Regions from separate parts of the Homo sapiens genome. Here regions 2, 3, 4, 5, 6 and 7 are each linked to region 1. The links are contacts of gene promoters, found by promoter capture Hi-C in blood cells and fetal thymus (Javierre and others, 2016). All regions are on one chromosome and are shown on one strand. Each heading gives the region's core, a stretch centred on a gene start or on the middle of the fragment in contact. The rest is flanking DNA. Distances are from core to core; before and after follow the strand shown. Region 1 holds the start of SLC25A3 (solute carrier family 25 member 3). Region 2 overlaps SNRPF-DT (SNRPF divergent transcript). Region 3 overlaps SNRPF (small nuclear ribonucleoprotein polypeptide F). Region 4 overlaps UTP20 (UTP20 small subunit processome component). Region 5 overlaps CCDC38 (coiled-coil domain containing 38). Region 6 overlaps CCDC38 (coiled-coil domain containing 38). Region 7 overlaps AMDHD1 (amidohydrolase domain containing 1).

Evidence for each region. Contacts are between HindIII fragments. The CHiCAGO score rates a contact against its expected background, and 5 or more counts as called.
Region 2: a fragment that was not itself captured here is called in contact with the fragment with the promoter of SLC25A3 in region 1 in 1 of 17 cell types (activated CD4 T cells); the score reaches 5.9 in activated CD4 T cells.
Region 3: a contact is called between a fragment that was not itself captured here and the fragment with the promoter of SLC25A3 in region 1, in 9 of 17 cell types (total CD4 T cells, naive CD8 T cells, non-activated CD4 T cells and 6 more). The highest score is 24.7, in total CD4 T cells.
Region 4: a fragment that was not itself captured here is called in contact with the fragment with the promoter of SLC25A3 in region 1 in 2 of 17 cell types (activated CD4 T cells and total CD4 T cells); the score reaches 10.1 in activated CD4 T cells.
Region 5: a fragment that was not itself captured here is called in contact with the fragment with the promoter of SLC25A3 in region 1 in 1 of 17 cell types (activated CD4 T cells); the score reaches 10.1 in activated CD4 T cells.
Region 6: a fragment that was not itself captured here is called in contact with the fragment with the promoter of SLC25A3 in region 1 in 7 of 17 cell types (total CD4 T cells, non-activated CD4 T cells, naive CD8 T cells and 4 more); the score reaches 15.1 in total CD4 T cells.
Region 7: a contact is called between a fragment that was not itself captured here and the fragment with the promoter of SLC25A3 in region 1, in 7 of 17 cell types (non-activated CD4 T cells, total CD4 T cells, M0 macrophages and 4 more). The highest score is 18.1, in non-activated CD4 T cells.

The regions. Positions count from the first base shown.
Region 1 is chr12:98,591,182-98,595,107 of GRCh38, forward strand. It overlaps SLC25A3 (solute carrier family 25 member 3), which reads left to right and starts at 2,505. Exons shown (of 8, transcript NM_002635.4): 1 at 2,505-2,559; 2 at 2,794-2,954. The coding sequence starts at 2,798. It also overlaps the pseudogene PPIAP8. RefSeq lists enhancers at 2,027-2,246, 2,295-2,919, 2,497-2,596, 2,920-3,544. The HindIII fragment of the contact is 3,126 bases long and covers 1,805-3,926 here.
Region 2 is chr12:95,844,217-95,848,142 of GRCh38, forward strand. The region is part of intron 1 of SNRPF-DT (SNRPF divergent transcript); the gene reads right to left. Among named protein-coding and RNA genes, the nearest start is that of SNRPF-DT, 13 kb to the right of the region's middle. The HindIII fragment of the contact is 1,101 bases long and covers 1,525-2,625 here.
Region 3 is chr12:95,860,085-95,864,010 of GRCh38, forward strand. It overlaps SNRPF (small nuclear ribonucleoprotein polypeptide F), which reads left to right. Exons shown (of 4, transcript NM_003095.5): 2 at 1,084-1,209. Among named protein-coding and RNA genes, the nearest start is that of SNRPF, 3.1 kb to the left of the region's middle. The HindIII fragment of the contact is 5,419 bases long and covers 1-3,926 here.
Region 4 is chr12:101,296,264-101,300,189 of GRCh38, forward strand. It overlaps UTP20 (UTP20 small subunit processome component), which reads left to right. Exons shown (of 62, transcript NM_014503.3): 13 at 3,419-3,574; 14 at 3,710-3,798. Among named protein-coding and RNA genes, the nearest start is that of UTP20, 18 kb to the left of the region's middle. RefSeq lists an enhancer at 3,049-3,926. The HindIII fragment of the contact is 2,636 bases long and covers 611-3,246 here.
Region 5 is chr12:95,895,126-95,899,051 of GRCh38, forward strand. It overlaps CCDC38 (coiled-coil domain containing 38), which reads right to left. Exons shown (of 16, transcript NM_182496.3): 6 at 3,443-3,606; 7 at 3,260-3,340; 8 at 1-21. Among named protein-coding and RNA genes, the nearest start is that of SNRPF, 38 kb to the left of the region's middle. The HindIII fragment of the contact is 617 bases long and covers 1,557-2,173 here.
Region 6 is chr12:95,935,419-95,939,344 of GRCh38, forward strand. It overlaps CCDC38 (coiled-coil domain containing 38), which reads right to left. Exons shown (of 16, transcript NM_182496.3): 2 at 1,055-1,105. The coding sequence starts at 1,091. Among named protein-coding and RNA genes, the nearest start is that of CCDC38, 5.2 kb to the right of the region's middle. The HindIII fragment of the contact is 1,082 bases long and covers 1,628-2,709 here.
Region 7 is chr12:95,952,528-95,956,453 of GRCh38, forward strand. AMDHD1 (amidohydrolase domain containing 1) reads left to right here. Exons shown (of 9, transcript NM_152435.3): 2 at 190-296; 3 at 2,384-2,448. Among named protein-coding and RNA genes, the nearest start is that of AMDHD1, 11 kb to the left of the region's middle. RefSeq lists an enhancer at 3,823-3,926. The HindIII fragment of the contact is 442 bases long and covers 2,084-2,525 here.

The sequences.
Region 1 (3,926 bases), core at 1,255-3,754:
AAAGAACACGGTGGGGTTGACCATGGCTGATAGCACAGGGCTCCTGGCAGCAGCGGTGCCTGCAAAGCCCAGTGGTGTTTTTTTTACCATGTCAACTTAGCTAGGCTAGAACCACATTTCCTAGATTCCTTTCCCTGCATAGTTTTGGGTTAGGGCTAGCTATAAGAGAAATGTGTGCAGTTTGGAAGGCAGAAGTGGAGCAACAGTCATTACATTCTGAAGGTCACCAGCTCCCACATGGGGTAGGAGCTGGGCCTGCAGCTCCTTCAGTTACCACTGTATCTTCTAGATCAACTTCTGTGAGTTCTGGGCCACGAGCATGTGCAGCCCCATGGTGAAGGGTACCAGCTGTTCCAGCTGAAAAAATGTGCAGCAAAGGGTCACGGTATTACCCGGTGCTGGGGGAAGGGAATAGGAAGATTCACTACAGTCATATATTTTTACATAATATTTGACTTTTTCATGACAAAGGATTTTTAAATTAGAAAAGCACCATAAAGTTGAATTAACCAAAAAAGAGAGAGAGAAAGTCCAGACCCTTCAGTGACTACCTCTGTCTACATAAGATCAGACTCCTCAGTCTGGTATGTGAGGCCCTGGACAATCAGGTGCTAGTGTACTTTTTTAACTTTATCTGTCACTACTTCCCTTCCTGTGCCCTCCACTCTGGAATTCTTCCTGGGACTGTAGGACTTTAGTTGGGCCAGAAGGGCTGGGTCTGGGATAGGGTTGCTTAGAGAGTGCCGTGATGCCGCAGCCTCAATGCTAACTTTTGTTTTTTTGTTTTTTTTTTTTTTTGAGACGGAGTCTTGCTCTGTCGCCCAGGCTGGAGTGCAGTGGCATGATCTCGGCTCACTGCAAGCTCTGCCTCCTGGGTTCACGCCATTCTCCTGCCTCAGTCTCCTCAGTAGCTGGGACTACAGGCGCCCGCCACCTCGCCCGGCTAATTTTTTGTATTTTTAGTAGAGACGGGGTTTCACCGTGTTAGCCAGGATGGTCTCGATCTCCTGACCCCGTGATCTGCCCGCCTCGGCCTCCCAAAGTGCTGGGATTACAGGCGTGAGCCACCTCGCCCGGCCAATGCTAACTTTTTTTAGGTAACATCTTCTGTAGACTTTTAGACATTATCTCATTGAGTTCTCATAGACTCTGCAAGGTAAGTATTACTCCCATCCAGAACCAGACACCTGATTTGCAGGGTCCAGTGCAAACTAAAAAAAGCGTGGCCCCTTGTTCATACATGTATTAAGAATTTCAAGCCGGGCATGGTGGCTCAGGCCTGTAATCCCAGCACATTGGGAGGCCGAGGTGGGCGGATCACCTGAGCTCAGGAGTTCGAGACCAGACTGGCCAACGTGACGAAACTCTGTCTCTACTAAAAATAGAAAACTTAGCCGGGCGTGGTTGTGCACGCCTGTAGTCCCAGCTACTCCGGGGGCTGAGACAGGAGAATCGCTTGAACCCGGGAGGCGGAGGTTGCGGTGAGCTGAGATCGCCCCACTGCACTCCAGCCTGGGCGACAGAGCAAGACTCCATCTCAAAAGAAAAAAAAAAAAAATCAAAATGACAGCAGAGCATTAAATGAAGTGTAAGGCCATGTGTGACTGTACCAGTGTGAACCTATGAGGCCAGTCCCACCCCTATCTTACATCTAGGGAACAGGTACACAGAGATGAAGTAAATTCCCAAGGTTACTTTGTCAAGAGCTTGGAAAATATAAGAGTCAGAAGTCTAACAGGTTGAATCCCTATTAAACTCTCCCCAACTAAACTACGCCCCTCCCTGTTGAGCTGAATCTAATGAAAGCTTCCTAAATGTATTAACCACACACACGCACAATCTGCTATCAGTCACTTTCAGTAGTTCATCGCTGTAACATCTCAGGAGTTCAATGTTTCAACGTGTTCTGTAGATTACTGTGATAACGCGGCAAGCTGTCGTAAGACTTCTTGCTGCACATTTCTTTTTAAAATATTCTCCAGGAGTCTGATGAAAAATACAGACATACCTATGTTTAATGTCAATGGATGGAACTTATTTTAAAAAGTACTGTAATGGCAGAAGTTGTGACACAAAGTACTGCAGTGATGTTGTAACTCCAACACCTAAATATATTATCAAGCATTCGCGTTTTGTTTTGTTTTTTAAGTGACTACTAGATACTGTGATTCACTTAAGTGAAGCGAACTGAAGCCCGTGGTCAAGGAGAGACACCTGAAGGTGAAGGGACAAAGCGAGCAGGGTAAGAGCTCGAGCCCGACCCCTCTCAAAAAATATAGACCCGGAACGCGCGCCTGCGCAGAACGAATCCTCCCGCGCACAAGCCGGGCGGAAGAGCTGGGGCGGGCAGGGGCGGGAATAAGGTTGCTAGGAGAACGCGATGACGCTACGGGCTCGGCGCTCTTCTCCACCAATGGGCGACGCGTACTTGCAGTGGCGCGCTGTGTGCGTCACGCCGACGACGCGCGAAGGGCACACATCTTAGGACCCGGAGGACGTCCGGCCTCTGTGAGCCGCAACCTTTCCAAGGGAGTGGTTGTGTGATCGCCATCTTAGGGAGTGAGTGTGGCCGGGCCTTCTCCTGTGGCGGGTGTGGGGAGCGGAGCCCAGAGCTCCTGTGGGGCCGCTGCTTTGGCGGTGGGCCCAGCCGGGAGCAGCCTCTTTCGAAGGCCGCCGTGACCTCTTCAAGGGCGTGGAGACGGGAAGGAAAAGGCCCCGGTTGGGGTTCCAGGGCGCCGGTAACGTTAACCGGCGCCTTGCCTGTCCTCTAACCGTCGCTCCCTCCTCCCCTAGAAAGATGTTCTCGTCCGTGGCGCACCTGGCGCGGGCGAACCCCTTCAACACGCCACATCTGCAGCTGGTGCACGATGGTCTCGGGGACCTCCGCAGCAGCTCCCCAGGGCCCACGGGCCAGCCCCGCCGCCCTCGCAACCTGGCAGCCGCCGCCGTGGAAGGTGAGATCAGACCCTGCCCAATACAGTCGTGTGGTCTACTTGTGGGCCGCCCAGCCTTTGAGGCCTGGACCCGGCTTGGAGGACAGGGAAGGACGAGTCCAGCCCGCTGCACCGTAGGACGGCGCCCAGTTGCTTGCCCTGGGGTATCGGCCTTTTCCACCATAGGCGGGTGTCAGATCCTTGGCCTTCCCTCAAGGGCGTGGAAGCGCTGAGGCCCTGTGTCCCTTCGTGACCTCCGTGTGCCCGAGGGAAGAGAGGCCGTGACTAGCTCTTTCTCCGCCGTGAGCTCGCTTGGTCAGCAAACTAAGTACTGGGTAAACTCTCCTCCCGAAACTACTGACCACCCACAGTTCTACTAACTATATTACCTGTCCTTTGATTTGCCCTTAGTTTTCTTAAAAATAGTCCTTTCCTAAGTTTTATATTTGTCGACGCCAGGTCAGTCATTTTTGCACTTAATTGTATATGAGATAACTAGATGTCCTGTTTTCGTGCGACTGGAGGAGGCAGCTTGCAGCCCTACATAGGCAATAGAAAGGAGATAATTGGTGGGCGTCCCTTTGGTGTGATTATCTCTTGGGATTCTTGGTGGTTGGGCCCAGCTTTAACTTAGTTGTGTGTGTTTTAAATCCTAGTGAAGTATGTACATACAGAGAAACCTGAAAACCGAATTGTAGGAGTCCTAAGAATGTTATCTACCTTGTGCCTGTAAAATCGAAAGATTTTTTTCTTTAAATCATTCATGTGCTTCTGTTGTCTTTAGTATGGATAGAGTCCTTATTTACACTATCTGTCGTTCAGTTTAAAAGTTAAAGCTAACATTATTTGTGTATTAAATGTATTTGACTGCAGGAATTTGTGCGTATCCGTTTTTATGTTACAGGAGTTCTTAAGTGGGGATAGTATTGGTTAGTGGCTGGGATAAACTTTGAAGTTGTTTGCAAGCCTTTTACATGTCGAGTGATCTTTCTG
Region 2 (3,926 bases), core at 825-3,324, 2.7 Mb before region 1:
GCTACATCAACCCCAAAGAAGGGGTGCCTTTTCCTAATTCCTCCACTCAGAGGGGGCCTCTTATTTGTACAGAGGCACCTTATATGCTAGCAGCAGTTCTGTTCTGTACTATCAAGTGAAATTCATACAGAATACAACCTACGTACACATGTAATTTTAAAATAAATATAATGCCTAAACTGTAGCATCAAGCAGAGATAAATGTAAAATAATTGATCATAAAAATATGCAAACGCTCAAGTACTTTTACACTAGAAAACCTCACAAAGTAGTCAACTGTTTGAACCTGTAAACAGAGCCATGGATGTTATCTTGGTGATTCAAGTGCAGCTTGCAGCATTGTCAATACTTTTCTGAAATAGTGAAAACTGTTAGTAAAACTCTAAACAAAAGCAAGCATAGTCTTCTCTGAATTTACATGATAATTGTATTTTTGAAAAATGCAGTGTTAAGAGCAAAAAAAATTATGTTAAAAAGTATAAGATAATTATAAACAGGTTTTTCACCTGAAATCCCTGGAATATAAGAAGTATAAGTATTAGCTGTTGTTACCTTGTTTAACCCTGTTAATAATATTTAACCCATTTTAAAAATTATTTATTTATTTATTTATTTTTGAGATAGAGTCTCACTCTATGTGACTCACTCTGTCACCCAGGCTGGAGTACAGTGGCGTGATCTCGGCTCACAACCTCTGCCTCCCGGGTTCAAGCAGTTCTTCTTCCTCAGCCTCCCAAGGAGCTGGGATTACAGGCATGTGCCACCACACCTGGCTAATTTTTGTATTTTTGTAGAGATGGGGTTTCACCATGTTGTCCAGGCTGGTCTCAAACTCGTGACCTCAAGTCATCTGCCTGCCTCAGCCTCCCAAAGTGTTGGGATTACAGGCATGTGCCATGCACCAGGCCAATTTAACCCATTTTATGATAAGGAAATAGACAACATCCAGTAGACCCTCTGGCAATAGAGATCAATGGTTGCCTACCCCAAACAGCCTACTGGTGTTAGAACCCCTGATTCTCAGCAGGGCATAGGGCCACTGGGACTGTAAGAATCCTTTTCCATCCTCCCTTGCAGCCAGTGTGGCCGTGTGACCAGGTTCTGGTCAACATGCTATGAGGAAAAGAATTGTGCAGCCACTTCCAGAAAATTTCCTTTAAAGATAGCTGGTGCTTGCCCTTTTTTCCCTCCTTCCTCCATTTAACCCTTCGACTACGTATGTGGTAGTTAGAGCTCCATCTGGGATGATGAAGATGAGGGTCATAGCCTAAGAGGGCAGATCAAAAGCTAGGGGCAGTCAGGGTCTCTGAAGATTTCAAGCAGCAAAGCGTCACCCCAGTATTGAACTATTCACCTTTACAAAAGAGGTCAATAAACTTTCTTTTTGTTAGGCACTTCTTGTGTTACTACAGAGATATATCTGAGGCTGGGTAATTTATAAGAAAAGATGTTTAATTGGCTCACAGTTCTGCAGGCTGTACAAAAAGCATAGCGCCGGCATCAGCTTCTGGGGAGGCCTCAGGAAGCTTCCAACCATGGCAAAAGGCAAAGAGGGAATGGCGGCGTCTCACATGGCAGGAAGGGGAGCAAGAGAGAGAGGACCTGGAGGTGCCACACACTTTTAAACAACCAGATCTCGCAGGAACTCACTCAATATCATGAGGACAGCATCAAGCCATAAAGGATCTGCCCTCGTGACCCAAACACCTCTCACTAAGCCCCATCTCCAACTTTGGGGATTACATTTCAGCATAAGATTTAGGGGGACATATATCCAAACTGTATGATTCAACTGGTTTAAATCATCCTTAATTTGGGTCTTTGTTAATCATAGCTGAGCATAATCCCAACCTAATTACCCTCTATAAATTATAGTTCCTTTCCTCAATCCTAACTAAGTCTCCTTCCATAAATAACAGCTCCCTCTCTCATCCTTAATCTTTTTGCTTTAATTTGCCTTAAAATCTACCAGTCTATCCTGTTTACTTTACTTCAGTAAGACTTTAATATACTGATAAATAATAGGTTCTTTCCTAAGAGTTAATCACCATATTTATGAACTTCTCTTAAAATATTGACTATATGATTTTTTATAAGAGATTTTTTTTTACCTTCAGTCACACACTTCTCAAATGATTTTTCTAGCATTGTGTATTTTATTAGATCAATTTGTGATATAATTCCTTTGCTCTTATTTCGGCCACCCATGAAATAGAAGAGATAGAATAGAAATGGAAGGCTAGGCATGGTGGCTCATGCTTGTAATCCTAGCACTTTGGAAGCCAAGGCAGGCGGATCATCTGAGGTCAGGAGTTCGAGACCAGCCTAGCCAACATGTTGAAACCCTGTCTCAACTAAAAATACAAAAATTAGCCAGGTGTGGTGATGCATGACTGTAATCCCAGCTACCTGGGAGGCTGAGGCAGGAGAATCTCTTGAACCCAGGAGGCAAAGTTTGCAGTGAGCTGAAATCGCACCATTGCAGTCCAGCCTGGGCAACAGAGCAAGACTCTGTCTCAAAAAAAAAAAAAAAAAAAGAAATGGAAAGAGAAAAGGAAACTGGAAAAGAATAAGAAGAATAGCCCTTCCTCACAATTTTCACATTAAAATAGTATCACATAATAAAGCTTGACTAAATTTTTTTTTTATTTACTTGGAATACTGGTATACTGAAACAATTGGAGGGTGTCCAGAAAAAATTAAAATTCTTTCCCTCTATATTTTTTCTTTTGTATTAGTTTTTATTATAAACATCAGTTTAAAGGGGATTTATAGTTTGCTTCTGTCTATCCTTCATTTCTGAATAATCCTGTCTAAAAGTATGAGGTGGGGCTGAGCAAAGTGGGAATGGGGAGGTCAGCGCGCTCTGGAGTGGTGGCCCAGTTCATGCTGTTAGAGTCAGGCAAGGCTGTCTTGCTGGGTTGGGTGGGAGGGGGGATGGTAGTGGTGATGGAAGTTTGGTTACATGGAGGGGATTGATCAGATAAGTAAACAAATTGAGGATGAAGGGAGACAGTTTTCTAACTGTTGGGGAAGGGACTACAAATATGGAAACTGAAAAAACTAAAATAAGCCATGTGGTGTTGAACTGGAATTTTCAATAGCGATATTGAAACAAGTATGGATATGGTCATATATGCATGCATGTATGTATGTATACACATGCATACGTTCTCTAGTTTTGTCCAGTGAGAGGGACTGGAAGCACCAACACCCCCCTACCAAGGAGCGTGCCTATTGTCTAGACCAATCTTTAGTTTCCTAAATGCCATTCTCCACTAAAACGAAGCAGTGTTTTTTGGAGAATTGACTGATTCCAGGTTTGGGACAGGGAACATCTTATTGGGACAGAAAATAAGGAAATGCTCAAAGAATGAGGATGACATGTCAAAAGAACACAGAAGACAGCTTAATGGGGGATCCCCCTGTCCAAATATGTGACAATTAAGGCAGAGAAATAACAATAGTAACAGATTATAAATTCATGTAATAAAATAGAAATTCATGAGTCCTTAAAATAAAGAGCATCAAAATAAGTAATCATGACATGATTAACCCACTAAATAAAATAGAATCTATGAGTCCATACTGATATAAATAAGTGGGAAAAGGAGAAAGCTTTTCTTACAGTGGAATGCCAACTGATGCATGGAGAAGAAATGATGGAGTCAGAAAATCACCATTTGGCAGCCAGCATAAGTAACTGATTTAGCTCAGAAATACAGTGGATGCTAATATGCAGTAGGTGAAAGTTTGAGGAGGAATGAGATAACTACATAGCCTCAAAGTACCTTCACAAAATACTTCTTAATAATACAATTTTAAAAGGTAACTTTGCAATGAAGAAACCTGGCAGATAGTTCCCTAATCAAGAAGTTAAGGCTAATAGCACAAGTAATGGAGCCAATAGAATATATAGGCTATCT
Region 3 (3,926 bases), core at 1,070-3,569, 2.7 Mb before region 1:
CCGAAATCACTGGAGATGTTAATGGTTTGCTGAATAAATAGACATTAAGTAATTGCTGTAAGTAAGAGGCGGTGCTACTGACAAAGTCAGATAGGACCTAGCCCTAGCTTCCCCAGTTAAATACTGTCAAGCGTGATCTGCCCTCTGCTTCCTTCTGTAGTTTTATATTTGGGGCTTTGACTGACAATGCTGAATTGTATGTCCCCAAAACCACCTTGTTGCATCACTCTTCCCTCCTTTTACATAAGTAGCTAGCCTTGCCTGGAACAGCATTTTTTCCCGCTCTGGAAATAAACTCTTATCCTTTAAAACTGAGGTATTACTTATTTCAGGCAACCTTTCCTTTTTCCCCTGGATTGCTTTGGTACCCTTGTGCCTAGTATATCTCCTTTTACTACAGTGCAGCATGCAATATAATTATTTGTATGTGAGGAGTTCCCCTCCCCATCTCCAACTTCTTGACAGGGACTCATTTATTTATTTATTTATAAGAGACAAGGTCTTGCTCTGTTGCCCAGGCTGGAGTGCAGTGGCCTAATCATAGCTCACTGCAGCCTCGAGCTCCTGGGTTCAAGCAGTCCTCCCACCTCATCCTCCCTAGTAGCTGGGACTACAGGTGTGCACCACCACACCTGACTATTTTTGGTAGAGATGGGGGTCTCACTATGTTGCCTGGGCTGGTCTTGAACTCGTGACCTCAAGTGATCCCCCGGCCTTGGCCTTCCAGATTACTGGAATTACAGATACGAGCCACCCTACCTGGCCCGCTTTTTTTTTTTTTTTTTTTTAGTGCCTTTATCTTTGTTTCTTTAGAGCTCAGAACAGTGAGTGATGTAGGTAGTCAGTGTATCTTAAGTGAATAGTCAGTGTTTTGTTTTGATGGGTTAAAGGTGAAATTGGCTAACTGGATATTTAAATTTCCCTGGTACTCTCAACAAATAAAAGTGAAAATTATGTACTAAAATAATAAGGAGTCAAAAGTTTTCTTCATTTGCATACCACAAAATATTGGTGATTCGGTAGAAGAGAGTTGGTGGTGGGAGGAAAAATAATTAATTAGATCCTTTTTTGTTCTTTGTGCAGAGTTTACCCCTCAATCCCAAACCTTTCCTCAATGGACTAACAGGAAAGCCAGTGATGGTGAAACTTAAGTGGGGAATGGAGTACAAGGGCTATCTGGTATCTGTAGATGGCTACATGAACATGCAGGTAAGCTAAAGAGCTGTAAAGGTCATAACATTGCATTTATTTTGCTTCACCTTATTTCTCAAAGGTTTAGTCTGACTAATAAGAATACATACAATTAAATTGACAAATATACGGCAAAATTCAAAAATAAAGTCAAAGCCAGGAGGGATACTGTGATATACTAGGTACAAGACATGGACTTAAACCAGAATTCAGCTACAGATTTTATTCCTAGTAGTTAAAGTAGGAAGAGCTCAGACACTTGATTCATAATAATACCATAAGGGAAACACACTACTTTGCTGGAGAAAACAAAACATTTCTCATCATTTAGCCCTGAAAGAAAGTTTTCAAGTGAAATTATTGAGTCTTTTAATGAATGCTAAAGGCACAACACCAAAGCTATTGAGGAAATTCATTCCTTCAGGGGAAAGACAGATCTGCCAAAGGAATTGAACTGACTGTATGTCTGTCAAACGAGTTTCTGTAAATGATTCAGCCATGTGTTTTGGTGGGTTTTTTTGTAATTAATTATCTTTTTATTGTGGTAAAATATACATTACAATTTTGCCACTCTAACCATTTTTAAGTGTATAATTCAGTGGCATTAAGTACCTTCACATTGTTCTGCAGCCATCACCGTTGTCCATTTCTGGAACTTGTTTACCATCCAAAAGTGAAATTTTTTGCCCATTAAACAATAATTTTCCATTAAACAATAATTTTACAATTAAACATTAAACAATAATTTTCCATTCCTTCCTCCACCTAACTAACCCCTGGTAACCACTAGTCTACATGTCTATGAATTTGACCGTGCATAATACCTCATGTAAGTGGAATTGTGTATTATCCTTTTGTGTCTGGCTTGTTTGACTTAACGTAGTGTATTATTCAAGGTTCATCCATGTTGTAGCATGTGTCAGAATTTCCTTTTTATGACTGAATAATATTCCATTATATGGATATACCACATTCTAATCCATTTGCCTCTTGGTGGACACTGGGTTGCTTCCCTCTTTGGACTGTAGTAAATAATGCTGCTGTGAACATGGGTATACGAATGTCTGTTCCAGTCACTGCTTTCAGCTCTTTGGGGTATATACCCAGAAGTGGAATTACTGGATTACTGGTAATTCTATGTTTAATTTTTTAAGGAGGCCAAGCGTGGTGGCTCATGCCTGTAATCCCAGCACTTTGGGAGGCTGAGGCAGCAGATTGCTTGAGCCCAGGAGTTTGAGACCAGCCTGGGCAACATAGTGAAACTGCATCTCTACAAAAAAAATACAAAAACTAGCTAGGCATGATGGTGTGGGCAGCTATATTCCCAGCTACTCAGGAAGCTGAGTTGGGAGGATTACCTGAGCCTGGGGAGGTTGAAGCTGCAGTGAGCTGTGATCACTGCACTCTAGCCTGGATGACAGAGAAATTTTTTTTTTTCTTTTGAGTAACTGTCACACTATTTTCCACAGCAGCTACGTGGTTTTACATACCCACCAGCAATGCACAACGGTTCCAGTTTCTCCACATCCTCACCAACACTTGTTATTTTCTATGGGTGTTTATAAAATAGTTATTCTAATGGGTGTGAAGTGGTATCTTATTGTGGTTTTGATTTGCATTTGGCTAATGATGTTGAGCACCTTTTCATGTGTTTATTGGCCATTTGTTTATCTTTGGAGAAATGCCTGTTCATGTCTTTTGCACATTTAAAAAATTAGTTTGGGATTTTTTGTTGTTTTTTTAATGGTAGTAGTTTCCAGGCAGGTTTTTAAAGGCTATCAAGACAGGTGGTCAATCCAATCATGAATCCAAGGATTCCATACTTGTAAGCAGAGTACTAAAAGGAGTACTTAAGTAGGCAGAGAGCTATGATTTTCCTTAACTTAGGCAATTACCACCTGAGCACATGACATTAAGGCCCCCAAAGCATAGTTTGAGTGTGGAAAATTCCTTAAACAGGAGTCATTTACCAAGACCATAGAAAAATCTGGGAAGTATATGAATTGTGATGAAAATATTCTGGAAGTAGTGGTGATAGTTGCACAGGTTTTTGAATATACTGAAAACCACTGAATTGTACACTTTAAAAGGGTGAATTTTATGCTATGGAAATTAACATCTCAATAATAAAAGAATTACCACTTAATATTTGTTTTAGAATTAATATAGCTTGCTAGTGACCCTGCTAGAGTTGCAAAATGTCTGAGTAACCAACCACTTTGAGTAGTCAACCATATTGATACCAGTGTTTGAATTTGTTCACTCAGCAAATATTTATTGAATTCCATTATGTGCCTGGCACTGTGAATATAGCATTGAACAAAACAAAGTCCCTGCCCTCAACAGTTTATGGTTTAGTGGTGGGAGGTGGTAATATAATGTGATAATAGGCATGATAGATGCCATCCATGAAGAAAAGGGGGAAGACAGTATGTGCAATATTATATAGAGTAGCCTCTCTGAGGAGGCGAATTCTGGAAGATACCAGAATTAGTGTACAACTCAGTTGAGTATCTGGGGAAAAGCATCCCAGTTTGAGGGAACAGCAAGTACAAAGGCCCTGTGGCAGAAGCATGCTTGGTGTGTTCAAGGCACAGCAAAAAGGCCAGAGCAGATTGAGTTAAGGGACGAATGACAGAAAGTTAGGTTAAAATGGCGGCCATAGAGAGCCTGTTAAGTGATGGTGAAGAACATGATAGAAAGTATTTGGAACATTATTGTGTAATTTAGAAATG
Region 4 (3,926 bases), core at 679-3,178, 2.7 Mb after region 1:
TGCTACCTTTTAATAACCACACTCCTGGCCAGGCGCGGTGGCTCACGCCTGTAATCCCAGCACTTTGGGAGGCCGAGGAGGGCAGATCACGAGGTCAGGAGATCGAGACCATCCTGGCTAACACGGTGAAACCCTGTCTCTATTAAAAATACAAAAAATTAGCCAGGCGTGGTGGCGGACGCCTGTAGTCCTAGTTACTCGGGAGGCTGAGGCAGGAGAATGGCGTGAACCCGGGAGGTGGAGCTTGCAGTGAGCCGAGATCACGCCACTGCCCTCCAGCCTGCACGACAGAGCGAGACTTCATCTCAAAAAAAAAAAAAGAAAAATACAAAAAATTAGGTGGGTGTGGTAGCGGGCGCCTGTAGTCCTAGGTACTGAGGAGGCTGAGGCAGGAGAATGGCGTGAACCCAGGAGGTAGAGGTTGCAGTGAGCCGAAATCATGCCACTGCACTCCAGCCTGGGCGACAGAGCAAGACTCTATCTCAAAAAATAAAATAAAATAAAATAAAAATAAAAATTATATACCTTTGTATTGTTTCAGTTGTTAAGTGTCATGGATTACTTTCTTAATTTCATTCAAAATGACACATTGTTTAGAAGTTAAAAACAAAGCTTATTTACATACATGAGAAGATTTATTGTATCATTTCTCAAATAGTTAAGTGGGTATGCTTCTAGAAACTGTAGCTTAGGAAACCAGTTCCCTTGTCATTCCTTTGTTTTTATACTTAATCTTCTTATTTCTCTTGGAGTAGTTAGACCCGTTGTTGTGTTTTTGGTTTGCTTTGAGGCGGAATTGATGGGCATTCCTTGAGTTTGTGCTGAATACTCGACTTTGAAACATCCATGGAGGTGGGAGTTACTGTCCCACAGTCACAGAGCAGAGCTAGCTTTTGAGTTTGATCAGCTTGAGGTTCTGGAGGAACCTATTTTCTTTTTTAAATGTTTTATTTATTATTATTATTATTTTAAGAGCAGGTCTTGCTCTGTCACCCAGGCCGGAGTGCAGTGGCACAATCACGGCTCACTGCAGCCTCGATCTCCAGGGCCCAAGCTATCCTCTCACTTGAGCCTCCCAGGTAGCTGGAACCATAGGCACGCACCACCATGCCCAGCTAATTTTTTAATTTTTGTAGAGACGAGGTCTCGCTATGTTGCCCAGGCTGGTCTCAAACTCCTGGACTCAAGTGATCTTCCTACCTTGGCCTCTCAAAGTGTTGGGGTTACAGGTTGAGCCACTGTGTTTAGCAAACTCATCTTAACACCTACTTATATCTTCTGTATACCTTACAAATTGCTTCTCTATTAAAATATGCCAACAGAATCTTGTTGGTTTTTAAATGTATTGAATTCTGATTCCTGAGGAATGGGTAGTGAGTAACTCCAATAGAATTATTCCTTTGAAACTTTTCCCTTGATTTGTCAACACCCAAGCCCATCTCCAACAGGCAGATTCCTTGCACATGCCAAAACTGAGTTCTGTGCAGGGAGAGTGAAGCTGCTTTGTTGTTTGGCTTCCATGAGGTGAAGCTAAGGGACTGACTGAGACTGGGCGTCAGACCTTCTTACCCCATCATCTCAGCCATCTCAGATCCTCCCAGGAGGGTGACGTGTTAAATAAATAAATTTCGATGTGCTAACTCATGGCAAGTTCTTCCACTTCTGTGTTTCTTTCTCTGCAAAAACACCCCTCTGCCACCCCCAACGGAGATATGGTATGTGTGAATGGTCACCTTTGTTTTGATTCCTTCTATGAAGATTTTAAAATCATAGTTTGAATATTACTAGTAACACTCTATCTACCCATCTCACCAGTTTGCTGTGAGAAAAAATAAAGATAATAAATGTGAAAAGACTCTTTAGGAGATAAACTTACTGTCGTTTGACAACTACTTACGGTATCAGGCACTGGATACTGGGGTGCAACAAAGAATAAGAAAAAAGTTCCTTCTTTTGGGGAAAGGAATGTGGTGAGGCGGGTAAGCAAATAAGCGAGATGATTTCAGATCCTGATCGTGATAAAAGAAGACAAAGCAGTGTTGAGAGGGAGACTGAATGGAGAGGGGTCACTTTCCAGAGAGGGAACGTTTGGTCCAATTTTAAGCTGGGAAGGATCCAGCCTTGCAAAGATCTCAGTGAGAGACTCTCCAGACAGAAGGAAAAGTTAACTGCAAAGACTCTGGGACAGGAATAAGCTCAGCATGTTTGAAGTACAGAAAGAAAACCTCTGTGGGTAAAGAGCAAGGAGGAGATTGGGGTGAGAGGAGATGGAGGTGGGTGAGGGTCAAATCACAGAGGGCCTTACAGGATGACTTAAGGAGTATGGACTTCATTGGTGGAGCCATTGGCAGGTCTAGAAAACGGGAATGACGTGGCAACTAATGACTCATTTTTGTTTTTTAAAGCATCTTAGTATTTTGTAAGATTTTTGCAGATTGTTGAGTCATGATTATTACTAAAAAGACTATATATATCAAGATGTGGTGACTTTAAGGAATTGATAATTAAATTAACTTAGTTATCTATCATGATTTCCAGACACTAAACATCCTGGTAAGTATGAAACAAAAGAGAATGTAGCTTTTTGGAGAATTTTTTTTCTTTGTTTTTGTTTTTTTTTTTCCTTCCTTCCCCTACCTGACCATTTTTTGGTGAATTTTAATGATAAAAAGGGTGCAAGAGTAAAAACCTGATATTCCACTTCTATTGCATAACAAGCTAACCAAACTGGAGTTGGAGGATAATTGTAAAACAGATCATTTAACTTAAGATTTCTGTGATTTTTCTTTTGATTAGATTTTTGTCTTTCAAATAGGACCGAGGTGTAGTACATTGGCAAAAATAAAAAGAGGCTAACAAGAATAGTTAGCCTCTATCTAATCTGTGACCAGAGTCACAGATATTCAAAACAGAATGTCATGTCGAAAAATGTCATTGAGCAACTGTGTATCTGATCAAAGCAGCAGGAGAAAATTACTTATATGTCATAATCATTTTAGTGGTATTCGTCAACTTCATCACAGTAACTTTGCAACATCATTCTACATTTGTGGAAAGTAGTAAAATTCATGTCAAAAAGGAAAGGGAGAATGGAGGAAGTCAGTTCATTCCAGTGAATTGTCAATCAAAAACATGCCCAGGAGCACAAAATTGAGAAATCATACTTAAAACTAGAAGAAACTTGGTTTAAGTTATAAAGCAAATTAAAATAGAAGTGAAAGGAAGTAGAGCCAGTGGAGTTGAAAAAGCTTCTCACTGAAAACTCAGTAAATGACTCACATTTGTTTAGCTCAACCACCACCACCAATTCCTTCCCTCTAATGCTCCACAATGGTAAGAATCCAATTTTATTTCAGACTTCAGAGGGCAAGAGCGATTACATTCTCTGTTATTTTAAACATTTTTTTTAATCCTTCAGATTCTATATAAAGCAGAAGAAGACTAGATCCAAGGGAAGAAACGAACAGTTTCCAGTATTGGACCATCTTTTATCTATAATTAAGTTACCCCCAAATAAAGATACTACTTACCTTTCACAATCTTGGGCAGCCCTCGTGGTGTTACCTCATATTAGGTAAGAAAATAAGCTATGTTTAATTTTGAAAGAGATAACATGCTGATTAAAATATGTTAGCCATTCCTTGCTGTTCTCTGAAACAAACCATTGAATGCCAGTTTGAACTTTTCCCTTTTTCTCCCCCTTGGACAGACCTCTTGAGAAAGAGAAGGTGATACCACTCGTCACCGGCTTCATAGAGGCACTCTTCATGACTGTTGACAAAGGAAGCTTTGGGAAAGGTCAGTTACAATCATCATGTGTTCTCTTCTCTTCTTTTCTGGCACACTCAAAGTAATTGTAAACACATGAGCTATTAGAGAATAATACTTACATTGTGTTCTGGCATAACCCCCTGGATGATAAATCT
Region 5 (3,926 bases), core at 615-3,114, 2.7 Mb before region 1:
AATTCTGTTTTTGCTATTTCACTACTCAAAAGAAACAAAGATATGATTAGGTATATCAGTGTGAAAGCACATTCATTAGAAAAAAATTTTTATAAAATTGTTTCTCTTATGTACTGAATTAATAATTTAATTATCAAAAAGGATAAATATGGCCATAAAAATATGGGCTTCAGTGAATATGAAATGAGATGAAGGAAAACTCTAGGAATGCTGTTTAAATAAAACATGTCCAAGGATATGCACACATAGAATAGACATGATAGTTTTACTCGACTTGTTTATTATTCTGTAGGAAACACTGTATTAAGTTTTAGATATAGGGAGAAATTAGAAGGTAGCAAAAGGGCCGGGTGCAGTGGCTCACACGTGTAATCCCAGCACTTTGGGAGGCCAAGGCAGGCAGATCACCTGAGGTCAGGAGTTCAAGACCAGCCTGGCCAACATGGAGAAAACCCGTCTTTACTAAAAATAGAAAAAACTAGCCAGGTATGGTGGTGGGCGCCTGTAATCCCAGCTACTTGGGAGGCTGAGGCAGGAGAATCGCTTGAACCCGGATGGCAGAGGTTGCAGTGGGCCGAGATCGTGCCATTGCACTCTAGCCTGGGCAACAAGAGCAAAACTCTGTCTCGAAAAAAAAAAAAAAAAAAAAAAGCCGGGCATGGTGGCTCACCCCTGTAATCCCAGGACTTTGGGAGGCCAAGGAGGGCAGATCATGAGGTCAAGGGTTCAAGACCAGCTTGGCCAACATGGTGAAACCCTGTCTCTACTAAGAATACAAAAATTAGCCAGGCGTGGTGGCGCATGCCTGTAATCCCAGCTACTCAAGAGGCTGAGGCAGGAGAATCACTTGAACCTGGGAGGTAGAGGTTGCAGTGAGCTGAGATCACGTCACTGCACTCCAGCCTGGGCGACAGAACAAGACTCTGTCTCAAAAAAAAAAAAAAAAAAAAGAAAGTAGCAAAAGATGGTACATTTGTAAGGAAAAGAAAGAAACTAACACTTAATGAGGACCTATTACTACAGGCAGGACACACTACAGACATAGGCTGATCCTCAGGACAGCACTTTAAAATAGGTACTATTATTCTTATCTTGGAAAGGAGATGTAAATGGTAGAGCCAGCACTCAAACCTAGGTCCATCTGACTCAGATGCCCAAGCTCTTGCCAATATTGAGTGACTTGGACCAAAAGCTTTTGCCCAGCTTCACATTGCGTTATAGTAATTACATTACAAAGTGGACAAAGAGGGATGTTAAAATAACAAAAGAAGGCCCACTTGAAAGGGAGCTTCCAAACCTTTATCTGAAAGATATCAATATTACTTTGTATCAATGTTTTCAGCTTTAATACTTCTATCTGTCAGAGCCTTCCTTCAGCCCTGGTGCAAGAGTGATATTCAAGGGTCAGTAAATGGCTGCTTCACGTATCACCAGTTGGAAGATTGATGGGAGACCTTCATTCTACTGCTGCCTCCGTTTTAGATTGAAATCCTCCCAGATATGCTACAAAGAACACGAGGTGACAATTGGCTGGAAAGATACAGTTTCCAAGCAAAAGCTTCAGAAGATGCCCCCTTCCCTTTCCAGCCCTACCCGTAGAGGAGGCCTCCTGGGGCCATCTCGAGCCATAAAGAGAGAAGAGCACCTGCTGCCCTTGCTCCACTACAGGCTTGTTTTTCATGATCTCCTGCACCTTTCTAGATGATGTGATACATCAACGATCAAGTTATCTTCAGCAAGACCATTTGGAGGGCTCAACTCGGCGGCTATTGTGCATAAATGCAATACTTTGCACAAAAATAGAGGCTGCTACTCTAGCTCTAGAAATAATCTATAAATGGATAGAAACTTCTAATTGCATCGGGGGTGAAAGAGAGAAGGAAATTCTCCATCTTGGAGCAGCTTCAGCTTTAGGCTCCTAAAATAGAAGAGCCTGCTGTAGCCAGAATATGAAATGCACATTCTGTTAGTGCAGTTGGTTTCAGAGAAACCAACTCTGCTTTATTTCAGACTCGCTTGTCTGAAGGATGTAAGAAGCCTAGGACCTAGTTCTAGAGGGGAGGTAAGCATCAAGTTCTCAAAAAGGAAAAGTAAGTTTTAGCATTGACCTGATACCAACACTACAGTGTATTCTGAATCATGAAATTACTGTCCAAAAATGATGACAGAAGGAAGCTTCTTTAGCTACTTAAAATTAGTTAGGCCGGGCGCGGTGACTCACGCCTGTAATCCCAGCACTTTGGGAGGCTGAGGTGGGTGGATTGTCTGAGGTCAGGAGTTTGAGACTAGCTTGGCTAACGTGGTGAAACCCCATTTCTACCAAAAATACAAAAAATGAGCCAAGCGTGGAGGTGGGCACCTGTAATCCCAGCTACTCAAGTGGCTGAGGCAGGAGAATCGCTTGAACCTAGGAGGTGGAGGTTTCAGTGAGCCGAGATCATGCCATTGCACTCCAGCTTGGGCAACAAAAGTGAAACTCCCTCTCAAAAAAAAAAAAAAAAAAAAAAATTAGTTCAAGTGAGTTTCCTTGACCATAGAAGGAAACATCCAAGTTTGAAAAAGAGTGGCAGATGGTACAATTTTATCCCAACTCCTGCTCCAATGCTTTTTTCTCTTTATAGATCTTAGTTTTTTATTTTTATTTATTTTTACTAAAGATGGGGTCCCACTGTGTTGCTAAGACTTCACTTGAACTCCTGGGCTCAAGCGATCCTCCCGCCTCAGCTTCCAAAGGAGCTGAGAGGCAAGCAGTGTGCCCAGCAGATCTTAGTTTTTAATAGCAATACTAGTTTCCACTATGTAAGCGTAAATATAAAAAATACTGCCCATGATGACTGTAAGATGATCGTAGAATGAGTCCCAATTTCAGAGATGTTAAAATGTGGGGGAAAAAATGTCTCAGAATGAATGCAAAAGTGCAACCAGACTAAACTAAAAATATAAAAAGAAAAAAATGAATGAATGAGGAAGGGCACTTAGATAATAATTTATTGTTTATTCCTAATTGTTTTGCTTCATCTAACTTCTTTGCTTCTGTATCTACAAGTTAGAGAGACTTTCCAACCGGAAGCCACATACTGTCCTGATACCCAGGCAGGAACAAATCTTGATGGACAGGTTACTTATTTTTTAAAATTCGTTCATACTTATGACATCATCAACTGATAAGGATGATCAGGATTATTAGGTCTTACCTGGCATGAATAGGTTTTAATGGGTCGTGGAAATTTGGCCACGAGAAGATTGTGCCCACCCTCACCTTTTCACTGCTTGTACCTCCATGCTTGCTTTCTTCAGCTCTGCTGTCATTTGGAGTTTGTTTATTGTTTCCTGTGCTGCCCTGAAAAGCAATGAAGATCTGTTAATTTGCTTCTTAGAAACAAACAAACAAACAAACAAACAAAAGAGGTGGGAAGGATTTGGCCAGAGTGATGAAACAAACATTTTCAGAGCGTCTACAGATCTCTGGTCATTTTCTCGAAGGAACTCTTCAAAGGCCAGTGCATCATCTTGGAGCTTTTTCTCTGCTTTTTTTAGTTGCCGTTCCCTCATTGCTATGTCTTTTTCAAACTTTTTGATTGTGTTTCTTTTGGTTGACAAAGCATACTAGGGGCATTGAAGACAGAGGTGTAAAAACATGATTCCACATTTTTAGTAATTTCAACAGTCTTATACACAGCAAGTGAACATTTGTATTAGAAATAATAGTACGCCTAAATCTTGGAGCAATGGACTTTATTTCTTGAAGGAGTTTTATTTTCAGGGATAATTAGAGGGGAGACTAATTTCCCTCCCTTACTTCTATGAAGAGGGTCAGTGTTGTTCCAAAAGGGCTCTGCCCTACAAATAAAAAATAGCTGCATATTCCTCCAAAGAGCAGGTGCATCTGGTATTACCTACAGTGTATTACCCTCCAGTACTTTCTG
Region 6 (3,926 bases), core at 919-3,418, 2.7 Mb before region 1:
TGGTGTGGAAGCAGCCGTCTTGGACCAAGAACATAGCCCAGGAACAGGCCAGAAGGAGTTGGGCCCCTGATGTGAACCTCCATATGGAATGCTTGTATCCAGACTTAACCTGAGAGAGAACAAACGTCTATCATGTTTAAGCCACAGTTGTTTTATATTTTCTGTCTCTTGCAGCCAAACTTTTACATTGTAAATACAAATAGTGTCAAATGTTCCTTTAAAGAGAATGCCTATAGAGAGCCTGAGTGCCTGTTACCTATTACAAACTCTTAGTGTTATCCAAATGTTAAATTTTTGTCAGATTTGTAAGAGAAAATTGTAATTCCTTATATACCAATAAATACTAATTCCTTGTATGCTCATAAATAAGCAGAAGGAGGCTGGGCATGATAGCTCATGCCTGTAATCCCAGGTCTTTGGGAGGCCGAGGTGGGTGGATCACCTGAGGTCAGGAGTTTGAGACCAGCCTGGCCAACATGGTGAAACCTTGTCTCTACTAAAAACACAAAATTAGCTGGGCGTGGTGGTGCATGCCTCTAATCCCAGCTACTTGGGAGGCTGAGGAAGGAGAATCACTTGAACCCAGGAGGCGGAGTTTGCAGTGAACCAAGATTGCGCCAATGCACTCCAGCTTGGGCAACAAGAACGAAATTCCATCTCAAAAAAAGTAATTAATTAAATAAAATAAAATAAATAAAAATAAAAAATAGGCAGAAGGATAAGATGAGAAAGGGTGGGAAAGGAAAGAAGAGGGCAGATTTTCATAAAGTTTAGTTAGGTATGTCCTTGACTATGACAAATAATTGAGTTACTTGTTTTCTGTCATGAGAGACTGGGGCAATCTGGCTAAATATGACAATTTAATGCACCCTCTGATTTGAAGATTTTTTTTTTGAATTAAAAAGTAGAACAGAATCTTCTCTGCAGGTAGTTTATAAACTCATTACATTTTATATTTATGGTGTAACATTCTCCTTTTCTTATGCTCACAATCTGTTATGGAGCCTAACACTGCCAGGCCCAAACAAGAATATATTGATTGATTTCTTTTTACCTCCAGAATTCAGTGTTGGCAATAAATTTGAGGACATTTTCTTGCCTGGCCCTGTTGAAAGAAAAAAAAATACGTTTTTTAAAAATTCTATGAACATCATATAAAAGGGCTAAATTCAACTGCCAATGACTCCTTAACAGTCCTTATGGCTTTTAAAAGCAGTGAGCACACACATACTCTTTGACCCAGCAATTTCAATTCTGGTATCTTATGTCAAGAAAATAATCAGACAAGCAGCCAAAAAAGCATGTGCAATAATGTTTGTTCAATGTCATTTCATAAATACAGAGTTGACCAAATAACTATGGTATATCCATAAAATAAATTCCAGTTGGCCCTTAAAATGATGCTGTAGTCACTATTTACCTCTCTCCATGGTATTGGTTAAAAAACAAAACATTTCAAAAGAGTAGGGATAGTGTGGATTAAAAAATGCATGCAAAAATCTGAGAGGTGTTTGAAATGCCATTCATCAAACATGAATCTTGATTACATGTGATTTGGTGCAGTCTCTCATTTTTACCAGGTTTGGGATTAGGGTTAGGTGATTGAGGCACTCAATCTTAGCTGCAAAGCTTAAGGATTGCCAAAATAAACAAACAAAAACAAAACAAAAAAATCAACTTTCAGTTATTATGATAAATTAAATGTTAATGCAATATATTTTTATAAAATTCCAAATAAATGCAGGAAATTCTATAATGAACAAAATATCAAAATTGTAAATACGGACAGTCTCTGACCCTGTACTTGTGTGACCCTGAGAGCCAGTGCCTCACTCTACTCACCCAAATCCTGGCCCACAGAACTTGTCTCTATTTAAAATTCTGTTATTTCATTTATCATGAATTTTTTACATTAATTTATATATTTAAAATAGTGAATTAAAATATTGCTTATTTTGATTACTGAGTTTTTGCTTTCCCCTTAAATTTTATGCATGAAGCTAGAGCTTCACTGGCCTTACCCTAATCCTTGTTCTGATTTCTATACTTTGAGTATCATTCAAATTTCTCAGTGAGCTGGTGTAACTGTTACAATGAGAAAAATAATAAAGATATATTCATTTTGGGGATAAAGGACACCCAGGAGTTTATATTTAAAAATGTGCCCGCAGCAGAAACAATGGACAACACATTCTATTTTGGGCTACTCATTTAAATATGTGCCTCAGGAATCTCAAAGAGCCATATATAAGAGCTAAATATCCCGGAAGCAGAGCAGCAGATGATTAAGAACACAGACTTTGGACAAGCCTGATTTTTGAATCTTGGTTTGGTATTTACTTATGTGTGAGCAAGTTCATGTATCATTCAAAAAACATTTATTGAGTACCTACTATGTGTCAGGCACTGTTCTACGTGTGGGGGACAGGGCAATTTTTAAAAAGACAAAAAAGAACAAAAACTATTGTCTTCATGGAGCCTACATCTTAATTACTCAGCATCTCTGAGCCTCTGCTTCCTGTTTCATAAAGTGGACACACCTCTTAAGGCTTTCTTGAGGATTCAGTGGGCAATGGATTTAACCAAGTGGGGTGCCTGGCTTACAGACCAGCTCAGTAAGTGGGAACTATTATGTGCTAATATTTACTAATTAGCATCTGATTTTAGTTCCAGTGGTTATAAAAACAAATATTTAAAAAATTATGTCAAAGCTTATAAAAGAGAAAAAAATGAATAAAAACTATAACATTGACATTATACTTTTTCAAATGACTGAACATTTTTTCACAGGCATTAAATTCATTCTCACGGGGGAAAAGAAAGATCGGTGAAAAATTGGTGACAACCTGTGGTTGATGAGTATTTGGAATTTGGATGGCTAATACTAAAGATTTGTAGATTTTCTCAATTTTACACTCTGTACTCATCTCCACTCTTAGGATTCTGATCACCTCTTTCTTGTCACATTTTCACTCCTTTGGTCCTTCTATCTATCTAAATTCACTCTCCTTCCCACTCTCATTCCCTTTATCCTTAAAGTCTTTTTGCAATGAGCATCTTTATCCATGGGTTCAAGGACTTTTTCACTCACAGAAAAACTGGAAGTTCTGTTCCTTTAAACCAATTGCTAAGAGCAGATATCTGCTCTTATTCTGTCTCTATTATATAGTTCATATAACATGTAAATGCAATCAGCAGTCTCCAGATGTTGTTATACTTCTATACTTCCATATGCATGAATTCCTGTATTGATGAATGAAAGGTTGGTGAACAAAAGGGAGGGAGAGGAACAGAACCAGTTATTGTTAGGAAGGGATTATAAAGTCCCCTTTCCAATCAGAAAAAATGTTGAAGTCAGTGGATGTCTTTGTTGTGCGAAATAAAAATAGCATGATGGCTAAACAAAGGCTCTGTACCAAAAGAGAGGGAAAATGTTATTGGATTGCATAGCAAATGCCTGAAAGTTCACATCTTAAATACACGTTCACATCCAACTTCCAATAGATGAAAAAGATCAAAAGCTCAGAAATATCAGGAATGTAAAATGGTGGTGTATAACTGCCAGCCATCCATTTTAGAGGTCGCATAAGCTAAATGATTAAGAACATAGACTCTCTCTATGTCCCTTAATCCTCACACTTCAATTTCCCCATCTTTCAAGAGGAATGATGCAAATAGTATCTACCTTGTGGGATTGTTAGGTAAGTTACCACGTCCAGCCTTTGGATGGCCTCAGTTGCATAGTATGTGCTATGGGAGTGTAAGCACATGGAGAGGTGCACTCTGAGGGAGGAATGTGCCTGGTGTGTTTCAGGAACAGTAAGGACACCAGTGGGCCTTAAACACAGTGAACAAAGGGGACAGCACCCCAGATGAAGCCAGAGAGACAAGAAGTCCAAGATCACGAGGGCCCTGGAGGCCATTTT
Region 7 (3,926 bases), core at 1,055-3,554, 2.6 Mb before region 1:
CTAATCTGGGTCTTTTATGGTTGCCTCGAATGTGGCTAGAGACGCTTTTCCAGACTCAGGTTCAAGATAGAAGCACAGTAAATGTTGACTAATTAACACCAAAGAATCTGAAAACATATTTTAAGTCACTCATCAGATTTCTCACAAGATTTCCCCAAATTTAATAACTATTTCTTGATTTTTCTTCAGAGATGGATTTATAAAAGCTATTGGTCCTGCTGATGTTATTCAAAGACAGTTTTCTGGAGAAACTTTTGAAGAAATAATTGACTGCTCTGGGAAATGTATTCTACCAGGTATTTACCTCTTTTTCAGTAAAGGTCTACAAGTAGCTTTAACAGTTGCTCCTGAAATGTAAAGAGGAAGAGTAACAGCTTATTTTAAAGTCTCAAAATAATATTTAAAAAAAATCATCGTTCCATGTATTGAATTTCTATTATTGAATGTATAGCTGCTTTCAAACATGGTTTCACCTTGAATCCTTATAACTGCCCTGTGTGGGAGGTATCATTATCTATACTTTACAGATTAGAAAATTGAAGCTAAGGGTGAAATATGTTACCCAAGGTTCCTAAACAGGAAACAGACAACCTAGGAATCAAGCCCATTCATTCGACTCCACTTCTTCCCACTCACATGCTGAATAGAAACCAGCTGTGTTGTGTTTAGGTTCAAAAACAGTCAAAAGAACTTTATTAATCCATGGCATAGGAGAGGCTAACAAGGCAGCTGCTGTCTCTAATACTAGAAATACTCTAAATTTGTATAGGATGTGAAACAAAGGATCCAGCTCTGGGCAGAAAAAGAAAAACAAAAATCCTAGAGCTTTCACTGCAGTTCACTTGTATCTTTGATGATTGACAACAGAATCAGTTTATTAACCATCATCTCCTACATTATGTTGTATGGCTTCATATAATCATCCAAAACAAGTTTCACAAACTTTCAGTTCTACACAAACAAAAGGGCTTCATATTTATATTTTTTTATATAAAATTTTTATACTTTTAAATATTTATTGTACACATCTGACAGAGCTTCTAACTGATGGGTTTTCATTTGTTTGTTTATTTTGAGACAGTCTCACTGTGTCACCAAGGCTGGAGGGCAGTGGTGTGATCTTGGCTCACTGCAACCTCCACCTCCCAGGTTCAAGCAATTCTTTTGCCTCAGTCTCCTAAGTAGCTGGATTACAGGCATGCACCATCATGCCTGGCTAATTTTTGTATTTTTAGTAGCAACAGGGTTTCACCATGTTGGTCAGGCTGGTCTCAAACTCCTGATCTCAAGCGATCTGCTGATCTCGGTCTCCCAAAGTGCTGGTATTATAGGCATGAGCCACCACGCCCGGCCTTCCTTATGATTCTTGAGAGTCAGGAGACAAAGTCAGGGTGAAATGTTATGAAAAAGAGGAATATAGCAGAAAGCAATCTGAGTAGGCGCTTTTGATTTTAGTCCAATCAGAGCCAATAATGAGTCATTTAATCCATAAGGTATCTAAAACATTTTGGAAAGACACACTTTACTGAATTGTACCTGGATAAACAAAAGTTTCAAGTGATTGCTTTACAGTTTCTCCTTAATTAAAATACATTTCTTTCTTGAAAATAGATTAATCTTTCTGATTTCACATTTTCCCTTCTCAGAGTTGCAGGGGGAGGGGATTGTAGTATTGTTTTCATATCCAGATTATTCCTTGTGATAAGGTTCATGGTTTTGCCAACTAGGGGGCTTGACAACCTAATTTCAAAGCTTATTTGGGCCAGGAGTAGTGGCTGATGCTTGTAATCCCAGCACTTTGGGAGGCTGAGTCAGGCAGATCATTGGAGGCTGAGGCAGGCAGATCGTTTAAGCCCAGGAGTTCAAGACCAACCTGGGCAACATGGCAAATTTTAGCTTGTGTGGTGGTGCATGACTATAGTCCCAGCTACTAGGGAGGCTGAGGTGGGAGGATTGCTTGAGCCTGGGAGGTCAAGGCTGTAGGGAGCTGTGAGTGTGCCACTGCACTCCAGCCTGGGCGACAGAGTGAGAACCTTTCTCAAAAATAAATAAAATAAAATAAAATAAAATAAAATAAAATAAAAGCTTATTTGGTGAGCATGGACTTACTGAGCAAAAGGAGCTGTATTTCTGTAAGGGATATTTTCATCATGTTGCATCACCTCCTTCATTAGAGCTTTCTAGACCAACCATACAACAGGGCAGTCTTCTTTTCTCTCTATCAAGGGAACCAGACAGACAAATTCTTCCTTTCATGCTCCTCCAAAATGGATGGCCACCATCACACTTTCCCCAGAGCAGCAGGGTATAGTGCTGCTGTTTGCCTGCTGTCTAAGTGCTCTCTATTTCTTAATTGTAAGATAACTTGATTTATTGATTATAGGTTTGGTGGATGCACACACACATCCAGTATGGGCTGGTGAAAGAGTTCACGAATTTGCAATGAAGGTAACTGCAACAAATCATGGCAAATCAAAATAAAGCACAAATATGAAGTCTTTTGCTGAAGAGTTAGTAGGCTATCAAGCTTTGCAACATATGTCAACATATTTTTTAATGGATATTTTTACTTGCTTGGGTATGGGAAACAAATGACAACAAAACTTATTTATAACTGCCCCAAATCATTGTATTATACACAGGGCTATTCCTGCCCACTAATGTCTCCCTCTCTTTCCTTCCCCACATTCCCATTCCAAATCGCTATCTCTAGTAGCTTTTGAAAGGGCTCCAAGGAATAGTTTGAAAATTGCCATTCATTGGAGTAAAGCTTGGAAAAATATGTTACTAATCACAAAAATAAAATACCTTAATTTTTCTGTTATAAACTGAGACTTATTAAGAATCACAAAATGTAAGCTGTGTTAGTCCTATATTAGCTGTAACCAACTCCTAAATCCCTGGTTGGAGAGATTTTCACATGTGTTTTTTAAAAAAGAAAAAAAAAGATGTGCCTCCTAGCAGCTAAACTGGCTTATTTCAGGAAAAGAAAAAAAAAATTCTTTTCTTCAGCTATCATGTACCTGCTTCAACAAACTAGAGCTGTTTTTAAGATTGTTTTATTAAATCACAGAATTTCAGAGCCAAAAGCAGTCCAATCCTCTCATTGTATAGACGGAGAAAGAGATTTACAGTCCAATCCTCTCATTATGTAGATGGAGAAAGCTGGGTCTAGAGAAGGGAAGAGTGTTGACTAGCGTCACCAGCTGGAGGATGGCAGAACCCAGATGAAAACTCCGGCCAGGAGACCCCAGGCCTGCATCCTTTCTCTGCACCACACTCCTTGCTGCCCAGAGTAACTGGAGCCCAGTGGGACCCTAGAAAGAGCCTCTTTGAGTGACAAAGATCAAGCTCCAAACTCGGATGGCCAAATATTGAGACAAGGAAACTTCCTGGGGCCGCTTTAGTGGAGATCTGAATAATTGCAATGGGGTTCCCTGCAACTCCTGAATTGCCTAAGCTTTGTTTTCTCAAACAAGCTGAGGGATGGAGGGAGGGCTGATACTTAGCAAGTACACATTGCGGGTTGATTGACTTGTTAAAATATTGCAATACTCCTGTGCCAGTTTTGTTTTGTTTTGTTTGTTTGTTTGTTTTTTGAGATAGAGTCTCGCTCTGTCACCCAGGCTGGAGTGCAGTGGTGCGATCTCAGCTCCCTGCAACCTCCGCCTCCCGGGTTCAAGTGATTCTCCTGTCTCAGCCTCCAGAGTAGCTGGGGCTACAGGCGTGTGCCACCATGCCCCCGCTAATTTTTGTATTTTTAGTAGAGATGGGGTTTCACCATATTGGTCAGGCTGTTCTTGAACTCCTGACCTCGTGATCTGCCCACCTAGGCCTCCCAAAGTATTGGGATTACAGGCGTGAGCCACCGCGCCAGGCCTCACTGCCCTAAGATCCCAACAGGCCACCCACCACATCTCCCATCT